Regions from separate parts of the Homo sapiens genome. Here region 2 is linked to region 1. The links are contacts of gene promoters, found by promoter capture Hi-C in human tissues and cell types (Jung and others, 2019). All regions are on one chromosome and are shown on one strand. The core of a region is centred on a gene start or on the middle of the fragment in contact, and the rest is flanking DNA. Distances in the headings are between cores, read along the strand shown.

What was found. Contacts are between HindIII fragments. The study calls those that stand out against the background at their distance.
Region 2: a fragment that was not itself captured here is called in contact with the fragment with the promoter of PRRG4 in region 1 in 1 of the 25 tissues and cell types used here (adrenal gland).

What each region holds. Positions count from the first base shown.
Region 1 is chr11:32,824,468-32,831,754 of GRCh38, reverse strand. It overlaps PRRG4 (proline rich and Gla domain 4), which reads right to left and starts at 1,828. Exons shown (of 6, transcript NM_024081.6): 1 at 1,582-1,828; 2 at 1,123-1,247. The coding sequence starts at 1,225. It also overlaps a transcript of CCDC73 not described here. RefSeq lists enhancers at 1,132-1,191, 1,202-1,251 and a silencer at 1,672-2,051. The HindIII fragment of the contact is 15,759 bases long and covers 1-7,287 here.
Region 2 is chr11:32,780,189-32,787,010 of GRCh38, reverse strand. All of the region lies in intron 1 of CCDC73 (coiled-coil domain containing 73), which reads left to right. Among named protein-coding and RNA genes, the nearest start is that of CCDC73, 11 kb to the left of the region's middle. The HindIII fragment of the contact is 5,975 bases long and covers 223-6,197 here.

The DNA.
Region 1 (7,287 bases), core at 579-3,078:
GCCACCGTGCCGGCGAGAGTGTCTCTTATACCCGTGTCATGTGAATGAATGATTGCACTCACAATCATTTTAGGGAAGAGCATCTGATTATGGAACCTTATAAGTGCAACCTTCTAAGTGGACTTACATATATGGTGCAGCTTGAGAGGGACTAAAAAGGATCCTCTTCCAAAATCTCTCCCTCTCTCTCTAGCTAGCCTATCCAGTTGCTAGAATTCTGTCATCAGAGTTTCACGCCTTTGGGTTAATGGATTGTTCTAGCTCAACACACACAAACACAGCTGTATTAATCATTAATAAAGTCAGTTAGGAGTACTAGTGTAACAGATCCTTCCCAAATGAAAATGAGCTGAGAATCGGATCTGATGAGAAGGGATAAGAGACAGGAATGTGTGGGGACGTGGATCCAGAGTACTGACACTGAGTGGGGAAGCACCATGAATAGTCAGGGAGAAGGATGCTGAGAGACAGAGGCTTTTTTTTTCTTCTGGTTTTACTAGGTTAGGCTTTTAAGATATAGGCAGGAAACAAACTGTTAATGATCTGAAACCTAAAAACTGTGGACTTCCAGGTTAGCAAGCCCCAAACCTAATCTTTTCTCAACTAGCTGCTTTTATCTAGACAACTAGACCATCTGAAGTCAAAAAGGACCTCAGAGATCATTTTACGCCCCACCCGCATCACTTTTACAGATGAAGACATTCAAGCCAAACGGGATTAAGTTATCTCGCCCAGGGTCTCGCAAGTCCAGACTAGATCCTGGACTCCCCGTTCGCCTCTCCAGGAAGAACAAGTAATTATGCTTATTATAATCGCCACACAGCTTCATCTAGAGAAATGTCACTCACTGATTTTCAGAAGCTGAAATAGGTTTTCCATTCAATTAACCACAAACTAGGTCTTACGTATATACTTATTAAAGGAGACTCACAGACATCAAATTCTATAAATTGCAGTTAAAGAACATAAAAAAACACAACCTTGCCAAATATGCCACAAATTAAACTAAAGGATATTTTAGTGTTTCTATGATTGCTGGGGGTATGTAATTTCAAATACTGCACTTTCTCACTGAGATCTGTGCTATGCGGCTCTGGGTTCCAGGGACGTTTTAGTGCTTACCTTCTTCTCCCGCATGCTTAGAAGCCTTTGGACCTCTTGCGCAATGAGGAAACCCCAGGGTAACTGTGGGCAGTTGGCTGAGTAGAACCAGAAGCGTAAACATAGTCTGGCAACTGTCAAACAAACTAAAACAAACAAAAAAAAATATTAAAAAAAAAAGGCCCCTAGCTCAGCACTTTGAGTTTCTGTCGAACTGAATCACCAACCTGTTGTACTCAAAGCCTAGGCGCAAGAGCGCCCGGCGCGCGGTTTCGGTCGCCGGAACCCGACGCGCGCCCAGGAAGCAGCCCCTGAGAGCGCCTGGGACAAACGCCGTGCCCAGTGACCCTGCCGAGGGCTGATCGGGCACCTGTCGCCGCGGGCAACCCTCGCTATGTGTTCGAATCCAACCCAGTCCGCCGAGGTGGCCCCTTCCAGGTAACCCCCTCCCCGCCGAGGTCCTGCCGCCAGGCCTCGTACCTGTGTCCCCCCGCACATGTTCCAGCAGCCCCCGGGCCAGAGGCTCTTCTTGGGGCGGTTCCTTCGGCCGCCAGGCCCTCGGTCTCCGGCGCCCTCAAACCTCGGCGACGCTCCGGGCCTCGCTCTCCGCAGGGTCTGGATGGCCCCCGCGCGCAAACCTGGGAAGGGCCTGGGGTTCGCAGAGGGGCGCCCGGGGAACACGCGCGGGGTGAGGTCCTGCCTCGGTCCGGGGAGGCGGCCGACGGAGGACGGGAGGAGGCGGCTACCTGGGGACACCTGGCCGCGCCCCACCTCCCGGGGGCCGGGCCTACCTGCGGCGAGCGGGCGGGCAGTGGGCCGGCGTCTCCCGGGAGCCCGCGCTGCGCTCTCAGCCGCCCCAGCTTCTGCCCCATCCCCGGGCGGGCCAGCCGCCTGCCGCCAGTTCTGGCCCCGCCTTGGCGGCGCGGGTGGCTGCTTTTCGATTTGTGTCTGCACTCGGCGTTCTCAATGATCCTAATTCAGGAAGCATTTCGGTTCTCAGTCTTAAGCAGAGCGCCCTCGGCGCGTCCAGGGCTTTTCGCTTTGGGTCCCACTGGGCCAGGAGTCCTGTGGTTACCTTAGGTCAACTGTTCTCAAAAGGGTGGTCCGGGGACGAGGACAAGATATTCATCAGACAAAATACCCTTTATTCGTGATAAGAAATGGAAATGACCTTACAAGTAATTGATTACATTGGTTCTCCAATGGTGGTCCGCCAGGTCTGGGATGTCTCCAAGATCTTTTCCAGGGGTCTCTGAGGGCAAAACTATTTCCATTATAGTAACAATAAATGATTTGCCATTTTCACTTTCATTCTCTCAAGAGTGTACAGTGGAAATTTCCAGGGGCTATTTGAAGTGTAATAACGTCATCATTCTGTCTCCTAATAGAATACCTGAGTGAGCGTGCTTGTATTTTCTGGTATTTTCCATAGTAGTATGTTTACATTATCAGTATGTACATTTTATAGAGATTTATGTAGATTTATAGAGATTAATAAAATTTGTTCTCAGTACTTGTGAACTTAATTTTTTTTCTTTCCTTTTTTCTTTTTCAGAGTAGGGGGTCTCACTTTGTTGCCCAGGAACTCCTGGGCTCAAGAGATCCTCCTGTCTCATCCTCCAGAGTAGCTGGGACTACAGGTGTCCACCAACTCTCTTGGCTACTGCTTTTGTACTTTGATTAGTTCTATTTGTTCATATCTACTAGGATAGCTATAACCTCATTTTTCTGAAGTAATTATCTTGAAATCTTGATCTTTTCCTTGAGTCTATGCATAAACATAACAAAAAGTAAGCTTTGTTGTCTTGATTTCAAATAATATTTTGAAAATTTCTCAGTTTTAATGTTAGATAATAAATATCATTAGATAAAATTCACATAAGTGAAAGCTCTTTGGGGTCCTTGATAATGTAAAAGAGCGTAAAAAGGTCTTGATTAAAGACTTCAAAAACTGCTGCATCAAGTAATGAAGGCAGCAGGTGGACAGAGTACCTATGCCAGGTGATGGTCACATCCTTCTTTATCCAAAGAACGTGCTTAACAGTTCTTTGAAACACTATTTATGCTTTGGTCGAAGTGGTCTGGCACTTGCTGGGGACCAAGGGAAACATTTTTTCCCCCTTCATTTTTTTTTTTTTTTTCTTGAGACAGAGTCTTGCTCTGTCACCCAGGCTGGAGTACAGTGGCACAATCTTGGCTTACTGTAACCTTCGCCTCCTGGGTTCAAGCGATTCTCCTGCCTCAGCCTTCCGAGTAGCTGGGATTACAGGCATCCACCACCACGCCCGGCTAATTTTTTGTACATTTAGGAGAGAGGGGTTTTCACCATGTTGGCCAGGTTGTTCTCAAACTCCTGACCTCAGGTGATCCACCTACCTCGGCCTCCCAAAGTGCTGGGATTACAGGCATGAGCCACTGTGCCCGGCCTCAAATTTTTGACTAATTCAATTTTTACCAAATTCTGTTTTTCTCCTCCCAAAGGATATTGTCTATTTTATTATTATTATTGATAATCAACTGAATTATTCCTAAGTTTTCTGCAGAAATTTTGTTTTCACTGATTCCTTCTAGGCAGTGCTTTTCCTTTCCCTTCTTCCAATCCCTTCCTCTTCACTTTCCATTTGTCTACCTCGTGGTCTAAACTATTTCTATGATGGATTCTTCTTTCCCTCTTATTCAAGCAATTGGGATCAGACTATGAAGAGGCCAGACATGGTTTATTGTGGTTGAACACAAGAATAGGAAACATTTTCACTAGAACACCCATTTTCCTGTTTATTCATTGAGTCAACCTACAGCACTGAGACCTCCTGGTGGGGAGATGGACACCACAGCTTCTGTTGTGGAGGAGAACTTAATCTGACTGAGACCTATATCTGAGAATGTGGGCCTGTAAAGTTCTTATCAAGTGCAAGAACTGACTTATTCATTTTTGCATTCTCGACAGTACCCAGGGGAGTGCTTTCTACATTGTTCGTGCTGAATACATTTTCATGGAGTGGAAGCAATTTATCTTCAGGTAGGAAAAGTGCTTCATTTCCCACTACTTTGGGGAGAGGCCAATGGTCAAATGCCTCATGCTATGGAATCAGCAGTTGTGAACTTTGATGACATTCCTTGGTAAAATGAGTCTGCCCACATATCTGGATATTTGGACCAAAACAAATGAGGCCTTGTGCTGACATCAAATATCAGAGTTTATAGACAGAGAGGGAGGCAGACAGAGAAATGAAGTCTGTTTCTCAGTAGTGAATTACATCCCTGTGTGTTTCCCTGTAACATTGAGTCCTAGAGAATGTTACAGCATTTGGCAGCATGCACACAAACTTCAGTCACTACGGAGCTGCAAGATATTTTGAGGTTAGATGGCAAAGAGAGAAATGAGAAAAGCCAGTAACAACAATGCCCAAGAGAGCTGATTTCTTCTATTATTTCCTTGCTGTATTAATTTTATTTTGTGCCATCTGCTATTTAAAGTTATAATATTCTTGGTCGGGCACGGTGGCTCACACCTGTAACCTCAGCACTTTGGGAGGCCTAGGCGGGCAGATCATGAGGTCAGCAGTTTGAGACCAGCCTGGCCAACACAGTGAAACCCCGTCTCTACTAAAAATACAAAAAAAAATTAGCCAGGCATGGTGGCAGGCACCTGTAAGTCCAGCTACTCGGGAGGCTGAGGCGGGAGAATCGCTTGAACCCAGGAGGCAGAGGTTGCAGTGAGCCGAGATCGCGCCATTGCCCTCCAGCCTGGGCAACAAGAGTGAAACTCCATCTCAATAATTATAATAATAATAATGTTATAATATTCTTATGCCTTTCTTCCAAAGCATTTTAAGTGTTCTCACAGATGGTATTTTTCTTATACTGGCTATCTGTGGAGTTGGGCTAGATATTATAATTCTCATTTTACAAAGAGGGATATTGAAGCATGAAGTAAATGAATAGTCATCGGCCAAGTAGTAGCTTGGTTCTTGACTCTGGGTTTTTTTTTTTGTTTTTTTTTTTTTGAGTTATTATCAAGCAATAAAGGGCAGTAGGTAAAGAATTATTTAGTTCAGAGGGAATAAGAAAAAAAATTGGAGCAATGAGATTAATGGACTTGGATTAATGTGATAATGCATCTCTGAATTTGAGCACATACCCGCCCACTTACCTGTGTGAATTCAAGAATGAAATGAAAACTCACTTTACTGTGTGGGCATGAGGATGGACTCAAGGACTGTGACAGGAGATGTTAAGATTGCAGCCATGAAGCTCTGTAAGTAAAGTCACCTCCACATCCTTAAAGGCACATCGATGACTATCATTAGCCTCTTGAAGAGATGCAACTTTATTAAACTTGCTGTTGCCGTGACATTTTAGCCTTGACATTTCAACATCAATTGTTTGCTGTTTTAGTTTATCTCAGTATAGTCAGCAAGTGAGAAATGAAAGACTCCTACTGTTCCAGGTTGATTATATATCTACATGCAGGTATTTTCAGATTCAACAAATCAGTAAAGGGGTTAAGAATTTTATTTTAAACATTTGCTTAAAGCCCTTTAAGGACACTTTTGAACAGAACTTTAATTCTACTATTTAAGAACAATGATTGTTAATAACAAAAAAGTTAAATAAAAGAACAGTGTGAGGGGTCATCTGATTTCATGTCACACTGTGAGTAGTAATAAGGCCTACGTGTCATGTTTAAAATATATTAATCTTTATAGCTCTTAGAGCGCACCGGAGCTGCCCCCAGGGACCTATGACAGGGACTTGTGTCATGGCTGGCCACAGAACTGTCACTCTGTGTACTGATGTTGGCATTTTTACACCTATTGTACACTTATCAGCCTTATTTTCTCATCATAGTCTTACTTTCTGATTGCCACACAATTTTTGGCCTTTTTTTTGTGAACTCATATTCAAGTGATCATGATATTCTAAGCAAAGATTATTTGGCATCAGTTGCAAAACTATACTTTCCAAACACATGTGAAAAAGGAGTTTAAACAAATTAGGCATTTCTAGCTATGCAATTGACGGTGTTTAAGAATCATTTGTTAATTCTGCATCAGAGGCCAAGCGCTCACGCCTGTAATCCCAGCACTTTGGGAGGCTGAGGCAGGTGGATCACCTGAAGTCGGGAGTTCGAGACCAGCCTGACCAACATGGAGAAACCCCATCTCTACTAAAAATACAAAATTAGCCAGGTGTGGTGGTGCATGTCTGTAATCCTATCTACTTGGGAGACTGAGGTAGCAGAATCGCTTGAACCCAGAAGGTGGAGGTTGCGATGAGCCGAGATGGTGCCATTGCACTCCAGCCTGGGCAACAAGAACAAAACTCAATCTAAAAAAAAAAAAAAAAAAAAAAAAAGTCTGCATCAGAAAAAGATGATAATGAAGTGTTAATGTTGTCGGTACTGAAAGACACACATTACATGGAAGTTCTATTAGGAAATATACCAACCAGGATCTGTTTATCCTCCTTTGGTGAAGGATTCTCCTTTGTTATTTTATGTACCGCCCTGGCTTGACACTCTTGAATGAAGTGTAAACTGAGAGTTTTGTTTTGTTTCGCTTTTCTGGAGACAGGGTCTCACTCTATTGCCCAGGCTGGAGTGCAGTGGCAGTTTCACAGCTCACTGCAGCCTCAACCTCCTGGGCTCCAGCGATCCTTCTGCCTCAGCCTTCAGAGTAGCTGGGACCTCAGGCACATGCCATCATGCCTGGCTAATTTTTGTATTGTTTGTAGAGACAGGGGTTTTGCCATGTTGCTCAGGCTGGTCTGGAATTCCTGGGTTCAAGGGATCTTCCCGCCTTGACCTCCCAAAGTGCTGGGATTACAGGCATGAGCCACGGCACCAGGCTTAACTGAGTTTTGAAGTATAAAATATGGATTTTAAAGCGTGGTTTCTTTTACTGATGCTTACTAATGGCTTTAGTAAAGTTTATGGATGTTCCTTACCCAGCCTGGACACTTCAATCCTGACAGTCCCTTGAGAGCCAAGGAGCAACATTTACCCATGTTTGTATTTTTGCTGCTTAGTACCTCACCTGGCTGGCATGTAGCAGGACTTCCTGGTTTTTAAGTGAATGAAACAATAAATAAGTTCTAGTCCTAAGTCTGCTTCTCCCTAGCTAGATGACTTTGAACAAGTCACTTCTCTGAATTCTCTCTACCTCTTCTGAGACATTGTGAGTT
Region 2 (6,822 bases), core at 1,961-4,460, 46 kb after region 1:
ACTGGCAAAATCTTACAGGCTCATTTATCCCTGTACATGATTGATAACAGCATGGGTTAAATGGAGAAAGCTTTGCTTCCATTAAAGGATCATCATGAATGAAGACCTCCCACTTAAAAGTCAGGCATGATGAGAAGACAAGAGACTATCTACAGGTCAAATTAAATAACTTAAATAATTTAAGTAGAATGACAGTGTAATTTGTCCATTCTGTGTTATTACTCTGACCCCTATCAGGATTATAGGCTAACTTACTTTCCACTGTAGAGTATTTAAGATGTAATTTTTAATAAATACTTCCAAAGACATAAAAGCCTTTATATCTCTTAAACTGTGAAAAATATAGATTTTTATTATGTACTTTTGAAAAAAAGCTTTTAAAAAAGCTTGTAATACTTATATAAAATAAATAATATGATGAATGCTGAAATGATGCTTTAAGCATTTTATAATATTATATTGGCCTTATTTTAAAATATATTTTAATAATGAAATATTTATTAATAACAAGTATGTTATAAATATAAATAATATATTTATTATATATTATAATTATATAAATAATATATTTATTATATATTATAATTATATAAATAATATATTTATTATATATTATAATTATATAAATAATATATTTATTATATATTATAATTATATAATAAATACTTGAGTATTATAAATAACAGATTTATTGTTATAAATTACTATAAATAAATGAACTACTTACAAAAGTTCATTAGTAACTATTTTATGCCAAATGTTAAAAATAAAGATTCAGTAAGCATTTCTTAATGGCAACCCTTCTATATGGAATCACTGTTGGAGTTTATTCAAATTGTGTTTCAGGATAGGGGAAGGCGTATGCATTTTTAGATATTTCTGTAATAAAAGCAGTACTGAAGTGTAAGAATATTTTGATCTGTTAAAAGTAAAATATAGATGAAGCTTCAAATTAAATATTACATGTCTTTTTAAAATTACAAAAACAGCATGTTTTATACATATAAGCATTTACATTTCTTCTTCACTGGTTTCTGAACCCTTATGTAAAACCAGGTCTTTACATATGTTACCTTAATTTAATCATCACATCCTGTGAAATAAGTATTATTATCCCTGGTATTAATAGATGAGGAAACTGAAACCTCCTCTGTGTGAGAAGTCACACAGCTAGTAAGAGGAGAGAATTTTAATCCATATCTGTTGTGGATTCTGTTATAGGAAGCTACAAAAATGCATATTTCTTTTTCAAAAGCACATAACAAAAATCTGTACTTTACCACAAAACTTCAAAACTGGTGCACTTCTGCCAGGCATGGTGGCTCATGCCTGTAATCCTAGCACTTTGGAGGCCGAGGCAGGAGGATTGCTTGAGCCTAGGAGTTCAAGACCAGCCTGGGTAACATAGTGATAGCCTGTCTGTCTCTAAAAAAAATAAAAAATTCACTGGGTATGGTGACACATGCCTACAGTCCCAGCTACTTGGGAGGCTGAGGTGGCAGGGTCACTTGAGCCCTGGAGGTCAAGGCTTCAGTGAGCTGTGATCACGCCACTGCATTCCAGCCTGGGTGACAGAGTGAGATCCTGTGTCAAAAAAACAAAAACAAAAAATAAAAGAAAAACTGGTGCATTTCTCACCTTGTCAAGCTGTCTGTAACAGCATCGTAAAACTTTTTTTGACAGTGAGCCACTGTAAGAAATACATTTCACATTGTAATCTGGTATACTTATATGTATTTACATTTACATAAAATTAAAACAAGAGTTTTATAAAACTTACCATATGTGAGGAGATTGCTGGTCTATTCTAGTTTAATCTACACTGTTCTGTTCTTTTTTTTTCCTGAGATGGAGTCTTGCTTTTTTGCCCAGGCTGGAGTATAGTAGCGCTGTCTCAGCTCACTGCAACCTCTACCTCCCGGGTTCAAGTGATTCTCCTGCCTCAGCCTCCCAAGTAGCTGGGATTACAGGCGCCCACCACCACGCCTGTCTAATTTTTAGTAGAGATGGGGTTTCACCGTGTTGGCCAGGCTGGTCTCGAACTCCTGACCTCAAATGATCCGCCTGCCTTGGCATCCCAAAGTGCTGGGATTACAGGCATGAGCCACCGTGCCCAGCCTGTTCTGTTCTATCATTATAAGAAACTAAACTGATTTCATATATCTTAGTCTAAGGGTTCTGTACCAACTTAAAACATATACAATAAAATTTACTCCTCCATTATATGTTATTTACACTGCTTATAGAAAAGGAGAATGAAGAGGACAAAATCATTTATACTTTTCTTAAAATAAAGTTTGTTCAGAAAAAGATCTCTCCTGCCATTTCTTCCTTTTCAGAGCAATTACTTCAAGCTATTTTAGCTGATACTTTAGACATTTACTTCCATATCTTTAAATAGTATGTTTGTAAATGATACTTCTTGATTTTCCAGTTTTACCCATTATCTAATGCCTTCCCATGATGGAAACTAAGGATTTAACTTTCTTTTGTCTTTTGCTCTAACTTCTCCTTCTTCACATCCTCCATAAACGGTTGTAGCATACTTTTTATTATATCAGCAGAGTAATAACATAATCATAAATGTGGTTCACAGCTGAACTATTGTAATATTCTGTGATTATTTTTCCTTACCACCTTGGATTGTCTTATTTTTCCCCATTGCTTTCTTTTTTTTTTTTGAGACGGACTTTCACTCTTGTTGCTTAGGCTGGAGTGCAGTGGCGCGATCTTGGCTCACCAAAACTCTGCCTCCCAGGTTCAAGCGATTCTCCTGCCTCAGCCTCTTGAGTAGCTGGGATTACAGGCATGCACCACGACGCCCGGCTAATTTTGTATCTTTTAGTAGAGACGGGGTTTCTCCATGTTGGTCAGGCTGGTCTTGAACTCCCGACCTTAGGTGATCTGCCCACCTTGGCCTCCCAAAGTGCTGAGATTATAGGCGTGGGCCACTGTGGCTGGCCTGCTTTCTTTTTAATGTATTAATTACTAATTCAACCCCAGACTTCTCTCAGTTACCTAAAACTTTTATGAGTAACTTAAAAACAGTTGATAATCTATTAATACCATTGTGTTGAGGAAGTTGCTGCCAGAGCCTATTAAACCACTTTAATCTGGACTGGTTGCTCTCTGTCTTCGTACAGGTGTCCTCTTGCTGTCCTCCACCGTGCTAGGGTTCCTTTCCTCTCTTTCTTGCCTATGCAAGATTGCTATAGAATAAATATTTGTGTCTCCCCCAAATTCATACGTTGAAACCTAATCCCCAGTGTGGTAGTATTTGGTGGGGCCTTTGGGAGGTGATTAGGTCATGAAGGCAGAGTCCTCTTGAATGGGATTAGCACCCTTATGAAAAGACCCCAGGAAAAAAAAATAAAAATAAAATAAAAATGCCTCAGAGAGTTTCCTCACCCCTTCCACCATGTGAGGACACAGGAAGCAGGACCTCACCAGACACTGAATCTGCTAGCACTTTGATCTAGGACTCCCCAGCTTCCAGAACTGCGAGAAATAAATTTCTGTTATTTATAAGCCACCTGGTCTGATATTTTGTTATAGTCATCTGAACAGATTAAGACAAGGATCCGCTGTTTCCTGGATCCCATGCCTTTCTCTTCCTTAAAGAAATCCTTAAGGAGCTTCCTGAGAAAGGGTGCATAGAAGGTAAATTGTTTTGGATACTGCATATCTGAAAATATCTTCTATCTTCACTGTTGACATGGCTGTTAAAATTCCAATCTGGTAATCATTTTCCCTTTAAACTGAGGGCTTAGTTTCTTTATTCTAGCTTCCATTATGGATATTGAAAATTCCAGTGTAATTCTTGATCTTTTTTATGATTTTTTTTTTCCTTTCTGGAAGCATATAGGATCTTTTCATTTCCTCTAGTGTTCTGTTATTTCACCAATGATGTGTCTTGGTGCTGGCACTTGATGGGTTCTTTTAATATGTGAAGTTATATTTTTTAATTCTGGGAAAATTGATTTAGAAACTTTTTGATGATTTCTTCTCCAATTTCTTTGTTCACTCTTTCTGGGACTTTTAGGGTACAGTTATTGGGACTTCTGGATTAATCCTCTAATTTTCTAATCTTTGTTTCTTCAATTTTCTATTTCTTTGGTTTTTTGCTTCTTTTTGCAAGACTTCTTTAACTTTGTCTTCTAATCCTTTTATTGGATTTTTCATTTCCACTATCTTAATTTTTATAAGAACTGTTTCTGTGAAGCATCTTTTTTTTCATCAATGTAATATACACTCATCTCTTCATAAGAAAGTTGATGCTGTACTGAACACTATGGATAAGAAAATAATTTTTAAAAGAGTGTTAGTAATATTTCTTTTGAAAGAGTTTCCTTTGCTTAATGTTTGCTTCCTCTGAATTGGCTTTTAAAATTTCAGTTTGTTTTAATCTTTGTCTTTTAAATTAGACACTTTCCCTTAAAAGTCTATTGGTTTTTCACTCTTTGCTCTGTATTTAAGAATGGGGCACCAGAAAGTGAATTGGAGGTTATGTATGCATGGATATAGCCTATTGACTATGGTCTTCATCTTAGGGTTACCTGACTAGAACATTTTGTGAGGAAACTCCTGTTATCATATTATTTGTGTCTTTTCTCTTAGCCTGGTCAAATTCCCTAGAACAGTGGTCCCCAACTTTTTGGCACCAGGGACTGGTTTTGTGGAAGACAATTTTTCCACAGACTGGGGCTGGGGGAAGATGGTTTCAGGATGATTCAGGCACATTACAACTTATTGTGCACTTTATTTCTATTATTTTTACATTGTGATATGTAATGAAATAATTATACAACTCACCATAATGTAGAGTCAGTGGGAGCCCTGAACTTGTTTTCCTGCAACTATGCTGTCCCATCTGGGGGTGATGGGAGACAGTGACAGATCATCATGCATTAGATTCTCATAAGGAGCATGCAACCTAGATCCCTCTCATGCACAGTTCACAACAGGGTTTGTACTCCTATGAGAATCTAATGCTGCCCCTGATCTGACAGGAGGCAGCTCAGGTGGAAATGCGAACAATGGGGAGTGGCTGTAAATACAGATGAAGCTTCACTTGCTCTCGTGCCATCGCTCACCTCCTGCTGCGTGGCCTGGGGTGTTCCTAACAGGCCACGGACCAGTATCAGTTTGTGGCCTGGGGGATGGGGACTTCTGCCTTAGAAAACACACACTTCCTTCCAATCTGCTGCCTCAAGAGCTATCTGGCTGTTAGCAGCTATTGGAGCTGTGGAGAAGAAAGACTGGTGGGTATCTCAACATTTAATATACACATTTTTCCATATAGTAGCCACCCCTGACCCTTTCTCAACTGCACCTGGTATCCCAATAAACCCATTCCAGAGGCTCAGTTTTGTCATCATCAGAACAACTTCCAATCTTCTGCCCAGGTCAGAGAGGGTTCTGCCTAACCAGAAAGAGAGAGGGAATCTGTGGGTCTTCTTAAACACACTTTCAAGTAATCATCCTGTTTTTGGCTTCACCTTTACCTTCACCTTTAGAGGTACCTGGTATCAGCAGACTCTGTTGGCAGGGGAGGGGAGAAAGAGGAGAGAGTGATGTAAATCAAATTGCTTCTCAGTTTTCCTAGCTTTCTCAGGTGCAATAAAGATTTCTACTTTTTTATCTGTCTGCCAAAAAACAGAGTTTTATTGTTTTTGTCTTAGATACCATTCTGTTTGTTCTAAGGCTTATGCCTTAAATCACCACTGTCATTTTAGTGGAGTGGAACTAAATACCACTGTTCAATCCACTATCTTTAATTAGAAGACTCTGAGTCCTGTTTTTATTATTATTGATGTTTCTAACAAAGTGTTAACATAAATATTTTTGTTATAAACTCCACAAACACTTTTTCTTTTGAGACAGGGTCTCACTGTGTTGCCCAGGCTGGAATGCAGTGGCATGATCTTGGCTCACTGCAACGTCCGCCTTCTGGGCTCAAGCAATCCTCCTACCTCAGCCTCCCAAGTAGCTGGGACTGCAGGCATGCACCACCACACCTGGGTAACTTTTAAAACTTTTTGTAGAGATGGGGTCTTGCCATGTTGCCCAGGCTGGGCACAAACTTTTGAGAGGCACTATAATATAGTGGTTAAGAGTACAACCCTGGAACCAGATTGCTGGGTTCATGTCCTGGTTCCACCTTCCTGTATATCCTTGGGCAAGTTACTTAATCTCTCTATGCCTTAGCTTTCTCATTTAGAAATGAAAATGGTAACAGTAAACATCTCATAAAGTTGTTTGGAGAACTAAATATGAAGTGTTAGAAGATAGTTTTGCACGTATTAAGTGCTCAACAAACATTAGCCGTTATTATTTAAGTGGCTACATATATTCAATTAGATAGTGATAACTTAATTGGCTATTTTTCTATTACTGAACATTTAGGTTGTTTCCAACTTTTCTTTCTTGTTTTTTATTAGTAAATATTTTGTTGTAAACATCCGTTAACATAAAACTTTTTCTGCATCTAGGATTTTTTTCTTTTGAATAGATTCTTAGAAGTTGAGTCAGCATAGAATAGTGTATGACTTTTGAGACATTCTAAATTGTTTTTTGAAAGGATTGCTTCCATTTACATGTCTACCAGAACTATTTGAATGCCTCTTTTACAATTTTTTTTCTTTTTACTAGCACAGTACTCTTATTTTTAAAAAACTTCGGCTAATTTTATAGGTAAATATGTTATTTTATTTATTTATTTATTATTATTATTTTTTGAGACAGAGCCTTCCTGTGTTGCCCAGGCTGGAGTGCAGTCGTGCAATCTTGGCTCACTGCAACCTCTGCCTCCTGGGTTCGAGT